Regions from separate parts of the Homo sapiens genome. Here region 1 is linked to region 2. The links are contacts of gene promoters, found by promoter capture Hi-C in blood cells and fetal thymus (Javierre and others, 2016). All regions are on one chromosome and are shown on one strand. Each heading gives the region's core, a stretch centred on a gene start or on the middle of the fragment in contact. The rest is flanking DNA. Distances are from core to core; before and after follow the strand shown.

What was found. The method cuts DNA at HindIII sites, captures the fragments that hold promoters and counts their contacts. A CHiCAGO score of 5 or more calls a contact.
Region 1: the fragment with the promoter of LINC00661 here is called in contact with the fragment with the promoter of CIB3 in region 2 in 1 of 17 cell types (endothelial precursors); the score reaches 5.3 in endothelial precursors.

The regions. Positions count from the first base shown.
Region 1 is chr19:16,010,559-16,017,141 of GRCh38, reverse strand. LINC00661 (long intergenic non-protein coding RNA 661) reads right to left here and starts at 1,508. Exons shown (of 9, transcript NR_026828.1): 1 at 1,353-1,508. It overlaps LOC105372291 (a long non-coding RNA gene), which reads left to right and starts at 2,086. Exons shown (of 2, transcript XR_936355.1): 1 at 2,086-2,171; 2 at 2,757-3,006. The HindIII fragment of the contact is 12,039 bases long and covers 1-5,200 here.
Region 2 is chr19:16,170,451-16,177,026 of GRCh38, reverse strand. It overlaps CIB3 (calcium and integrin binding family member 3), which reads left to right and starts at 3,502. Exons shown (of 6, transcript NM_054113.4): 1 at 3,502-3,602; 2 at 3,831-3,865. The coding sequence starts at 3,552. The HindIII fragment of the contact is 19,742 bases long and covers 1-5,372 here.

The DNA of each region.
Region 1 (6,583 bases), core at 259-2,758, 160 kb after region 2:
CTGATCAGGCAGCGGTGCTGAGATGTGCTTCTCACCCAGAAAAGGGTCCTTTCTGCACAACCACTTACAGCACCTCTGTGTCTCCAACTGCTCCATGACACGGAGGTAGGCTGGCGGCACTTGGCACAGTGACAGCATGGGTTCACAGCCTCTGTCATGACGGGGCCCTACCTGGCTCAGCAGGGCCCAGGGTCAGCGTCCTCTGCCCGCTTAATGGTCAACATGTATGCGTGCAATTTGTCTGTGTATGTGAGGATGCATGTGTGTGGGTGAACACGTCTCTCCTCCAGCTGGGCCTGGCTGCTCCACTCAGGTGTGCACCTGGATCCCTGTCACTGTCACCCCCGGGCCTGTGGCCAGCATCAGAGCACCCATAGGTGCTCCTCAGCCTCTGCTCTTTCCATGCTGGGTGGTCCTGGGGATGCAGATGGGGCAGGGACATAGGGCAAAGGGCAGAGGGCAGAGGGCAGAGGGCAGAAGCCAGGCTTCCCCCTTGGGGTGACTCGCGTAGTGTGTAAAGTGCCAGGTCTGTGTGGCAGGGCTGGATTCAATGCAATGCACCCTCTCACCTCCTCCTCCCAGAAGCCCACTGGGGTGCTGTGACTCACCCCCCACCCCATGGATGGAGGCAATCACGGAGGCTTCGAGGACTAACCCGTGGCCTGAGATCACCCAGGATCCCACTGGCCAGGCTTCCAATGGTTAAGCTCCCACTGAACAGGTCCTAGCTGACCACCCCCACAATGACCAGGTCCCACTGACCAGATGTGGACTGACCAGGTCCTGCTGACTGGGCCCCACAGACCAGGCCCTGGCTCATCAGACACCACTGACAAAGGCCACAATAACAAGGCTGCAACTGACAAGGCCCTCACGGCCCTCACTGACTAGGTCCCAACTGATGGACCCCACCAAATAGATCTCACTAATCAGACCCCCGCTGACCAGGCCCTAACAACTGCTGGACCCCTGCTGGCCAGGCCCCAAATGCTGAACCCCACTCACCAGGCCCCAAAAGCTGAACCCCACTGACTGGGCCCCAAATGCTGGATCCCTGCTGACAGGCCCCAACTATGGGATCCCCACCAACCAGGCGCCAACTGTCAGACCCCTGCCAACCAGGCCCCGGACGCTGGACTCCACTGACCATGTCCCAGCTACTGGACCCCCACTGACCAGGCCCCAACAACTGCTGGACTGCACTGATCAAGCCCAAACTGCCAGACCCCACTGACTGGGCCCCAACTCCTAGACCCCTCCTGACTGAGCCCCAACTGCCAGACCCTTGCCAACCAGGCCTCTTCTTATGAGACCCCTGCTGACCAGACCCCAACTGCTGGGCCCCTGCTTACCAGGCCCCCACATCCACACCTCACTGACTAGGCCTCACTGCTCTGATCCCCGCCGATCAGGCCCCAAATGCCGGGCCCAGATGACCAGGCCTCAACTGCTAGACGGCCCACCAACCAGGCCTCAGCTCCTGGACCCCTGTTGACCAGGCCCCAACTGCCAGACCCCAATGACCAGGCCCCAACTGCCAGAGCCCTGCTGACCAGGTTCCAACTGCTGGATCCCCTTTGACCAGGCCCCAACTGTTGGACCCCCGACAACCAGGTCCCAACTGCCTGATTCCGCCAACCAGGCCCCAACTGGTAGACCCCTGCTGACCAGGTCCCAACTGCGAGACCCATGCAGATGAAGGCCCAGCGTCCAGACCTCACTGCCTAGACCGCACTGATCTGATCCTCACTGACCAGGCCCCAACCGCCAGACCCCACCTACCAGGTCCCAGCTGCTGCATCCCTGCCAAATAACCCCCAGCTGCCGTATCCCCTCTGACCAGGCCCCAACTGCTGGACCCCCTCCAAACAGGCCCCAACTATAAGACCCCGCTGACCAGGCCCCAACTGCCAGACCCCCATGGACGAGGCTGCAACTGCCAGATCTCTGCTCACCAGGCCCCAACTGTGGGACCCCCGCTGGCCAGACCCCAACCATGAGACCCTCGCCAAACACGCCCCAACTACTGGACTCTTGCTGGCCAGGCCCCAACCCCCAGGGCCTAGTCAGTCAGTGAGACCTGACTAGGTCTCACTGATCAGATCCCCGCTGACCTTGCCCCAGCTGCAGACCCCTATTGACTGTGGGCGGAGGATTACCCAGGTGCCGAGGTGAGAGACTGAAGACACAAACTGTTTCAGTATAATAAAGAAAATAGTTAGAATAAGAATAGTCATAATACAAATTAGATATAGAGATGATCATGGACAATTATCAATCATTATTATAAACATTATTAATCATTAGCTTTTAATATTACTCTTTGTTGCGTTACTAACATAACCTAGGAATAACTGGCGGGTAGAGGGTCAGGTGCTGAAGGGACATTGTTAGAAGTGACCTAGAAGGCAAGAGGTGAGCCCTCTGTCAACGCGTGCATAAGGGCAGCTTGAGGGCTCCTTGGTCAAGCGGTAACGCCAGTGTCTGGGAAGGCGCCCGTTACTTAGCAGACTGCGAAAGGGAGTCTCCTTTCCTTGGAGGAGTCAGGGAACACTGCTCCACCAGCTTCTTGTGGAAGGCTGGATATTATCTAGGCCTGCCGCAGTCATCCGGAGGCCTAAACCCCTCCTTGTGGTGCTGTGCTCCAATGGTCACTTTCATGTTCCTCCCGTACTCCTGGTTCCTCTTTGAAATTTGTAGTAGATAGCGGTAGAAGGAATAGTGAAAGTCTTACAGTCTTTGATCTTTCTTGTAAGTGCATAGAAGAAAACGCTGACGTATGCTGCCTTCTCTCTCTCTGCTTCGGCTACCTAAGAGGGAAGGGCCCCCTGTGCTGTGATCACGTGACTTGCTTCACCTTGTCAATCACTTAGAAGATTCACCCTCCTGACCCTACGCCCCTTGTCTTGTATGCAATAAATATCAGTGTGCCCAGCCATTCAGGGCCACTACTGGTCTCCGCGTCTTGATGGTAGTGGTCCCTCGGGCCCAGCTGTTTTCTCTTTATCTCTTGGTCTTGTGTCTTTATTTCTTACGCTCTCTCGTCTCTGCACACGGGGAGAACACCCGCTAAGTCCCGTAGGGCTGGACCCTCCAATCAACCAGGTCCCAACTGCTGGACCCCACTGACCAGGCCCCAGGAACTGCCGGCCGCCTGCTGACCAGGCCCCACTGGTCCGATCCCCACTGAGCAGTCCCCTGCTGATCAAACCCCACTGACCAGATTTTCCATGACCTGACCCTCATTGAATGGATCCCGTTAAGCCGACCACAATGACCATGTCCTCACTGACCAACACCCCCGTGAGTAGGCCCCCCCACTGACTAGGCTTCTGATGACCAGGCCCACACTGCCAGGGCCCCACTGACCAGACCACATGACATGGCCCCACAGACCAGGCCCCACTGACCCAAACCACTGACTGGTCCCAACTGGCCAGGAGCTCAATGACAAGGTCACTGCCAACAGTGCCCCTTACAACCAGGCCTCCACTGACCAGGGCCCCACTGAGTAGGCCCCACTGGGGAGTCCTTCGGTGGCACCGCATTAGCTGACCACACCCCTGACAACCAGGTCTCTGCTGACATGGTCCCCACAGAACACGTCCCCATTGACCAGGTCCCAAATAACCAAATCCCATGGACCGGGATCTGCTGACTAGGCCACACTGACATGCTTCCAATGGTGAGACCTTCGCTGACTGAGCAGGACCACACCGCCAGGCCTCAGCTGACTAGACCACAATGACGAGGTTTCCACTGACCAGGTGCTAACCGCCCAACCCCTACTAACGAGGCTCTACTTTTCAGATCCCGCTGACCAGACCCCCAGTGACCAGGCCCCTACTGAACAAAATACCACTCCCTACACCCCCACTGACTAGGTTTTTTGTTGTTTGTTTTTGAGATGGAGGCTGCCTCTGTCACCCATGTTGGAGTACAGTGGTGTGATCTTGGCTCACTGCAACCTCCACTTCCTGATTAGGTTCAAGTGATTCTCCTGCCTCAGCCTCCCGAGTAGCTGGGACGACAGGCACATGCCACCACGCCTGGCTATTTTTTGTATTCTTAGTAGAGGTGGGGTTTCACCATGTTGGCCAGACTGGTGTCAAACTCCTGACCTCAGGTGATCTACCCACCTCGGCCTCCCAAAGTGCTGGAATTACAGGCATATTCCACCATAACTGGCTAATTTTTGCATTCTTAGTAGAGGTGGGGTTTCACCATGTTGGCCAGACTGGTGTCAAACTCCTGACCTCAGGTGATCTATCCACCTTGGCCTCCCAAAGTGTTGGAATTACAGGCATGAGCCACCGTGCCTGGCCCACTGACTAGATTTTTACAGATAAGGCCCATACTGAGCAGACCCCAGTGACCAATTCCTCACCGAGCAAAACCCCACTGACTTAGATCCTGCTGACCGGGCTTCCCCCTCACTGACAAGACTCTGGCTGACCAGGTCACCACAGACAAGGCCCGCAATGACTATGTCCCATTGACTGGGCTTTTGATGACCAGGCCCCCATGGACCACAAAAGTGAATGACCAAGGCAAAGTCTCAAATCATCCAAGTTTATTGAGCCAGTGTGAGGACCCGCCAGGGAAAATGTGGGTCACAGAAGCACCTGTGGCTGTTATAGATATACGTGTCCCTGTGATAAATCAAGCAGCTGACCAACCATTACCTCTCCCTTCCTGCTCTTTCCATCTATTAAATACGAAGGGCTGTAGAAGCTCAGGGCCTTTGCTCACTAGAAGCGAGGAGCCCCCTGATCCTTCTTTCAAAACAGATCTTTTTGTCTTTGTCTTTATTTCTGCATCCGTCCCCCTTCATTCACTCCCAAACTGACAGCGCTACTTCATGTAGTATGATTTTATTGTACTAAATTAGTCAAATATGTCTCTCATGGACTTCAGGAGATCTAATATAAAAAATAATGAGGTCACAAAGACTGAATTTAGAAGTTGATTTTGGAAAGTTAGTCAAATATCGAAAGTCTATGACACTTAATATCACAAAATAGGATCATAGGTGATTGTCTAAAGTCATTCATTTAGCCAAAGTAGTAACTCAGACACTTCAAAAAAATGCAAAGACCTTAAATTATTATTTTTTGAGAGAGGAGACTTACTTTCCTAAATAATAAGCCCTAATAAGGGACAAGGTATGGGGCCAGTTTCTCAATCTTATAAACAAGCTTCAATCATCTTGACCATAAGATATAATTTATATAAGCCAGATGCTGGTCTTGCTTCAGTGTGCCTTTAACATTAATGTTTAAGTTATAGAGAAACTCTGAACTAATTTCATCTCTCAAAATTGGCCCTTACAATCTTGCATGCTCACCTTTTCCATGATAGTCCCTGGGTCTAGAGGGGTTCAATAATAATAGTTTTAATTTCTGGCCTTGTGTCTCACGAACACAGTTTATTTTGATTGTAATCTTCTCTAGGGTCCAAAAATGAGGCTTTAACTGCTGTCAGTGTTTAAAATTTTGCAGGTCTTGGTGTCCTTTTTAGACCCAGGAGTCAAAGTCCTGTAACTTAAGAGCACAAGGACTTTAAAAGTAATGCCGAAAGTTACATTAATGTCATAATCTTAATTTTTTACAATCTCAGTTTTCTTAGGAAAATCAATAATAACAATAACATAGGAATTATTTTGATAAGATGAAACATTTGCTTGTTACATCAGTTACCAAAAGGCAAAAAAAAAAAAAAAAAGACCTTTTGGCCGGGCGCAGTGGCTCATGCCTGTAATCCCAGCACTTTGGGAGGCCGAGGTAGGTGGATCACGAGGTCAGGAGATCGAGACCATCCTGACTAACACGGTGAAACCCCGTCTCTACTAAAAATACAAAAAAATTAGCGGGGTGAGATGGCGGGCGCCTGTAGTCCCAGCTACTCGAGAGGCTGAGACAGGATAATGGCGTGAACCCGGGAGGCAGGGCTTGCAGTGAGCTGAGATCACGCCACTGCACTCCAGCCTGGGCGACAGAGCAAGACTCCATCTCAAAAAAAAAAAAAAAAAAAAAAAAAAAAGACCGTCTGCAGTGTGATTGCTTTTCTCCATGGGGAGTCCATTTAGATAAGCTGCAAGTCAAATCTAATGAAAATTGTACTGATTTAGACACAGAGTGTGTCCCGAGTCATAAGTGAGTTTTTAATTTCATAGACGAATTTAAAGCCAAGAGCACAAGAATGTTATATTAGATGAAAACATTTCCTTTAGACTTTAAGACAAAACATTTCTGACATCAGGCCACATCAGTTAGAATGTGATGAAAAACAGTTACAGAGGCCGATGAAAAGTTGAAAGAGACAGTTACTATCTCAGAACTTCTTGAAGGGGAGAGAAAGCTGAATACAGCAAGAGATGCAATAAAAGTTGAACTTTTGGGTTAAAAATTAAAACTTTTTATAATTTTATTAAGAGTAAATCAATACTGTAAGAAAATTTACTCGTTCTAACCAATTCTTTAGGGTTTTTTTTTTTTTTTTTTTGAGAAACAGTCTCTGTTCCCCAGTCTAGAGTGCAGTGGTGCCAACTCAGCTCACTGCAGCTTCTAACTCCTGGGCTCAA
Region 2 (6,576 bases), core at 2,253-4,752:
ATAGTAGTTCCTTATGAGATATATGATTCACAAATACAGTTAGCCCTTCATATCCAGTTTCCTTATCCATGGATTCAATAAACCACGGAGTGAAAATACCTGGAACCAATAAAATAAAAATAATACAACAATAAAAAGAATACAAATAAAAATGTGTAACAATTATTTATGTAGCATTTATATTTCATTAGATATTATACATAATTTAGAGATAATTTAAAGTCTATGGAGGGCCGGGCATGGTGGCCCATGTAATCCCAGCATTTTGAGAGGCCAAGGTGGGCCGGATCACTTGAGGTCAGGAGTTTGTGACCAGCCTGGCCAACATGGCAAAACCCCGTCTCTACTAAAAATATAAAAATTAGCTGGACACAGTGGTGTGCACCTGTAATCCCAGCTACTAGGGAGGCTGAGGCAGGAGAATTGCTTGAACCTAGGAGGCAGAGGTTGCAGTGGGCTGAGATTACGCCACTGCACTCCAGCCTGGGTGACAGAGCCAGACTCCAACTCGAAAAAGTAAAATAAAAATAAATAAATAAATAAATAAAGTGTATGGAAGATGTGCACAGGCTATATGCAAATATTATGCCATTTTATATAAATGACTTGAGCACTGAGCATTTGTCCCATTCTGTGGGCATGACAGGTTTTTGTGTGAACCTAGTTTAAATTTTTTTTTTACACTATACTTTATTTTTTTAGAGCAGTCTTAGTTTCACAGCAAAATTGATCAGAAGGTACAGAGATTTCCCGTACACCTGCTGCTTTCATACTTGTATAGCTTCCCCTACAATCAACATCCTCCACATGCAAGTGCATGACAGTAGCTAGTCTGTTACAATTGATGAACTGACACTGATACATCATTATCACCCACAGTGGTTAGTGGATAGTTTACATTAGGGGTCACTCTCAGTTGAACATAGGTTTTTATTTCCCTTGGGTAAACACCCAGGAGTCTTTTTTTTTTTTTTTTTTTGAGACAGGATCTCACTCTGTCTCCCAGGCTGGAGTGCAGTACAGTGGAGTGATCATAGCTCACTTCATCCTCGACCTCCCTACCTCAAGCAAACCTCCCAAGTAGCTGGATACCACCAAACCTGGCTAATTTTTGTATTTTTGTAGAGATGGGGCTTCACCATGTTGCCTAGGCTGGTCTCCAACTCCTGGGCTAAAGTGGTCCTCTTGCCTTGGCCTCCCAAAGTGCTGGGATTACAGGCATGAGCCACCATACCAGGCCCTGAATCTTGTGGTAAGGTTAAGTTTAATTCTATTTAAAAAAAACCCAGCCAACCTATTTTCCAGAGTGTCTATACCATTTTGCATCAACACCAGCAATGTATGAGCATTCCAGTTGCTCCATACCCTCACCAACACTTGATATTGTTTATTTTTTGAAAGTTATTCTTGGATGGCTGGGCATGGTGGTTCATGCCTGTAATCCCAGCACTTTGGGAGGCTAAGGTGGGTAGATCACTTGAGGCCAGGTGTTCAAGACCAGCCTGGGCAACATAGACAGACCCTGTCTCCACAAAAAATACAAAAAAAAAAAAATTAGCCGGATGTGGCAGCATGTGCCTCTAGTGCCAGCTACCTGGGAGGCTGAGGAAGGAGGGTCGCTGCAGTGAGCCATGATTGTATCACTGCTCTCCAGCCTGGGTGACAGAGTGAGACCCTGTCTCAAAAAAAAAAAAAAGTCATCCTTGAGGCATCTTTCAAGCCTGATCAGGGTCACATTTTACAAGATGACTGCACAGATTTGGCAGAGGATGCTTGATGAGGCCGAGGCAGGAAAGCCTGCTGGGAAACATTGCAATAGTCCAGGCCAGGTAGAGAAAACACAGGTGAGACCCAAAGTGAGAAGGGCATGGAGGGCCAGGCTAAGAAATTTAGACTCTCAGATTCTCCACCCAAGAGGATTCTGGGCCTTAATAAAGTTGGTAGCTGCTACATTAGATCTGCCCTTTGGGCCGGGCGAGGTGGCTCACACATGTAATTCCAGCACTTTGGGAGGCCGAGGCGGGTGGATCACCTGAGGTCAGGAGTTCGAGACCAGCCTGGCCAACATAGTGAAACTCTGTCTCTACTAAAAATACAAAACTTAGCCAGGCGTGGTGGTGGGCGCCTGTAATAATCCCAGCTACTCGGGAGGCTGAGGCAGGAGAATGGCCTGAACTCGGGAGGTGGAGCTTGCAGTGAGCCGAGATCACGCCACTGCACCCTAGACTGGGTGACAGAGCGAGACTCCGTCTCAAAAAAAAAAAATACAAAAAAAATTAGCTTGGCATGGTGGACACCTGTGGTCCCAGCTACCTGGGATGCTGAGGCAGGAGAATCACTTGAACCTGGGAGGCAGAGATTGCAGTGAACCGAGATCACACCACTGCACTCCAGCCTGGGCAACAGAGTGAGACTGTCTCAAAAAAATAAAATGTAATAAAATAATAATGTCAATGCACACCCCAGAACTTCATCTAGCTTGTTCACCATTATGTTCCCAATGCAGTGATGCAATCATGGCTCACTGCAGCCTCAAACTCCTGGGCTCAAGCAATCCTCCCACCTCAGCCTCCTGAGTAGCTGGGACCACAGGCATGCACCACCACATCCAGCTAATTTTTGTATTTTTAGTAGAGATAGGGCCTTGCCATGCTGCCCAAGCTGATCTTGAACTCCTGGCCTCAAGTGAATCTCATGCTTTGTCCTCCTAAAGTGCTGGGATTACAGGTATGAGCCACCTCGCCCAGCCAAAACCTTTTTTTTTTTTTTGGAGATGGAGTCTTACTCTGTCACCCAGTCTGGAGTGCAATGGCGGGATCTCGGCTCACTGCAACCTCCACCTCCTGGGTTCAAGCAATTCTCCTGCCTCAGTCTCTGGAGTAGCTGGGATTACAGGCATGTGTCACAATGCCAAGCTAATTTTTGTATTTTTAGTAGAGATGGGGTTTTGCCGTGTTGGCCAGGCTGGTCTTGAACTCCTGACCTCAGGTGATCCGCCTGCCTGGCCCTCCCAAAGTGCTGGGATTACAGGTGTGAGCCACCTTGCCCAGTCAAAACCTTTTTTTTTTTTTTTTAAATCTCAGATCCTGAGAATGACCCTATGAGGTAGGTATAATGTAATTTTCATCTCATGAATGAGGTTCAGAGAAGTCAGGTGACTTGCCCAGGGCCACACAGCTAGTGGGCAGAGAGCTGGGATTTGAGCTGCAGTGTGCCCATAGCCCTTCTGTATACCCTGCCTGTCTCTTGAGTGTGCCCCATAACCCCAGCCTCACCTTGTGGTGGCAGATGTGGCCTCCCCACTGAGGTCTTCTCTGTGACATCCCACAGCCCTTATCCTTACCCATGGACACATTCAGGCTGTTGTCCAGAGAGCCTGGCTGTAATTTGAGTCTCATCAAGCAGGGGGTGATGGCGTAGGTGGGTGGGTGACAGCCAGGGCAGGGAGATTTGCCCAGACACTGGTACACAACAGCCTGGCAACCCGTGTGGCCCCGAGGAAGCTGGGAGCCTTTGGGGTGCATCCCCAAGTCTGGGCTGTGGTTCACACCATGGGCAACAAGCAGACAGTCTTCACACACGAGCAGCTGGAAGCGTATCAGGTAGAGGGGGGCAGGATGGGTCCTCAGTGGGTTTGACAACTTTGGTTCCGTGGTCTGGGAAATGGGAACAGAATGCCTTCATCTGGGTGTACCGTCCGCCTGGGTTCCTGGTTCTGCTCTGTGTGTGGCAGCATCAGGCCATCTGTGTGAGTGTGGGGTGGAGGGAGGAGGCCGTGGGAGGAGGCCCCAGAGGCAGGGTTCGGGTTAAGACAACACCTCTCTCCACAGGACTGCACATTTTTCACAAGGAAGGAGATCATGAGGTCAGTCCAGGGAGGAAGGGAGAGAAGATCTGGAAAAACAACTTTCTATTCATTGCTGGAGGATATTTGCAATTTGGTGTGTGTGTGTGTGTGTGTGTGTGTGTGTGTGTGTGTGTGTGTAAGTAGTCTTTCTTTCTTTCTTTCTCTTTTCTCTCTCTCTCTCCCTCCCTCCCTCCCTTCCTTCCTTCCTTCCTTCTTTTCTTTTTTTTTGAGACAGGGTCTGTCTCTATTGCCTGGGCTGGAGTGCAGTGGTGCAATCATGGCTCATTGCAGGCTCGATCTCCCAAGGTCAGGTGATCCTCCCACCTCAGCCTCTCGAGTAGCTAGGACCACTGGTGCGAGCCACCACATGTACCTCATTTTTGTATTTTTTTATAGAGATGGGGCTCTCACTATGTTGCCCAGGCTGGTCTTAAACCCTTGGGCTCAAGCGATCCCCCTGCCTCAGCCTCCCAAAGTGCTGGGATTACAGGTGTGAGCCACCATGCCCAACTGGTATTTCCAATTTGTTGGGACTCAAATGGGGAAGGGGGGCAGGTGTGGTCAGTGGACAGAGGCAGAGATGGAGAAGCTGACAAGTCACATCTTGTCATACTGTCCCAGTCTCTAGGCTGATGAGCTTGGGCTTTCTCCCAAGGGTGGCAGGGAGCTATGGAGCATGCATGAGCAGGGGAGAGACCATCAGCACGTTAGAAAGATTCTCCTGAGGCTGGGCGCGGTGGCTCATGCCTGTAATCCCAGCACTTTGGGAGGACAAGGTGGGTGGATCACCTGAGGTCAGGAGTTTAAGATCAGCCTGGCCAACATGGTGAAACCCCATCTCTGCTAATAATACAAAAATCAGCTGGGCGAGGTGGTGGGTGCCTGTAATCCCAGCTACTCAAGAGGCTGAGGCAGGAGAATTGCTTGAACCTGGGAGGTGGAGGTTGCAGTGAGCCGAGATCACGCCACTGTGCTCCAGCCTGGGTGACAGAGCTAGACTCTGCCTCAGAAAAACAAAATGAAAGATAAAGATTCTCCTGAGACTGGGACTTGAGGCTGGGAGCCCAGGTGCAAAGTCCAGAGCCCAGTCTGGGTTGTGGGCTTGGCATTAAGATGAGGGTGTGAGGAGGTGGCCCAAGGCTGCTGCAGGTCCCTGGCGTGACCCAGCACGATGGGCACAGATGAGTATCCCACATCATCACTCGGCCTGTGGGGCCATTGCCCAGGGGCCCCGACCCATGAACTTGGAGCTATGAAACCCAAGCTGGCCAGGGTTCAGCTGCAGTGTGATCGGGGCCAAGGCCCCAGTTGTGTAGTAACAGGACATCCATTATTGATGGCCACACCTTTTACTAGTGAGCCCCATTGTTTGGGTGAGGACAGCTTGCAGGGTCACCTCGGCCATCACGATCAAATTACTGATGGGGAAACTGAGGCTCAGACAGGGCGGGGCTGATCCCAGGCTGAAGGGTAAATGCACAGAGCCCCAAGGCCCCAAGGACAGACATTTTGTCTGTCCCAAGCTTCTTGCTTATCAGATAGAATAACCAAGGCACAGAGAGGGAGAGGAGAGGAACATGCTCAGAGCCACACAGAAACCTAAACCCAGGGTATTCCCTGATGGGACCCCGACAGGGAACTGAGTGGTCAGGATGAAAGTTCTAGGTCTCCCCACCCCACCTTCATTGAGTTCCTAGTCATCATATGACCTAGGGACTCATGTCTCTCTCAGAGACAGTCCCTAGCAGCTTGGGGACCTCAGACCCACCAAGGATGGTCTCTGCAAGGCTGCTGCTCAGCATGCCCTAATGAAGGTATGGTGTCACAGGTGAGGGCTTCTGAGTGGAGAACTGGCCTTATAATCTGGATAGTGTGTGTGGTATTCAGTTATTTGCAAAATATCTTTTGTCTGCCCTTTAGAAAAAATGTGACTATTAGCTGTTTGTCTCTGCTCTGCCCCATTGAGGAATCCCTCCTTTTTTTTCTTTCTTTCTTCTTTTCTTTCTTTCTTTTTTATTTTTTATTTATTTATTTTTTTTATTGAGACCGAGTCTCATTCTGTTGCCCAGGCTGGAGTGCACTGGCTTGATCTCGGTTCACTGCATGCTGCGCCTCCCGGGTTCACACCATTGTCCTGCCTCAGCCTCCGGAGTAGCTGGGACTACAGGCGCCCACCACCACGCCTGGCTAAATTTTTATATTTTTAGTGGAGACGGGGTTTCACCATGTTAGCCAGGATGGTCTTGATCTCCTGTCCTCGTGATCCACCTGCCTCGGCCTCTCAAAGTGCTGGAATTACAGGCGTGAGCCACCGCGCCCGGCCTCTTTCTTTCTTTTTTCTTTTCTTTTTTTTTTTTGAGACAGAGTCTCGTTCTTGTTGCCCAGGCTGGAGTGCAGTGACACGATCTCAGCTCACTGCAACCTCCAGCTCCCAGGTTCAAGTGATTCTCCTGCCTCGGCCTCCCGAGTAGTTGGGATTACAGGTGCCCGTCACCACGCCCAGCTAATTTTTTGTATTTTCAGTAGAGATGGGGTTTCACCATGTTGGCCAGGCTAGTCTCGAACTCCTGACCTCTGGTGATCCACCCGCCTCGGCCTCCCAAAGTACTGGGATTACAGGCATGAGCCGCTGCATCCGGCCTCTTCCTCCCATTATAAGGAGAGGAAGGGAAGGTATGAAAGTGAAGGTATCTTTGGAGGCAGGGTCTTGCTGATAACATGACAATATC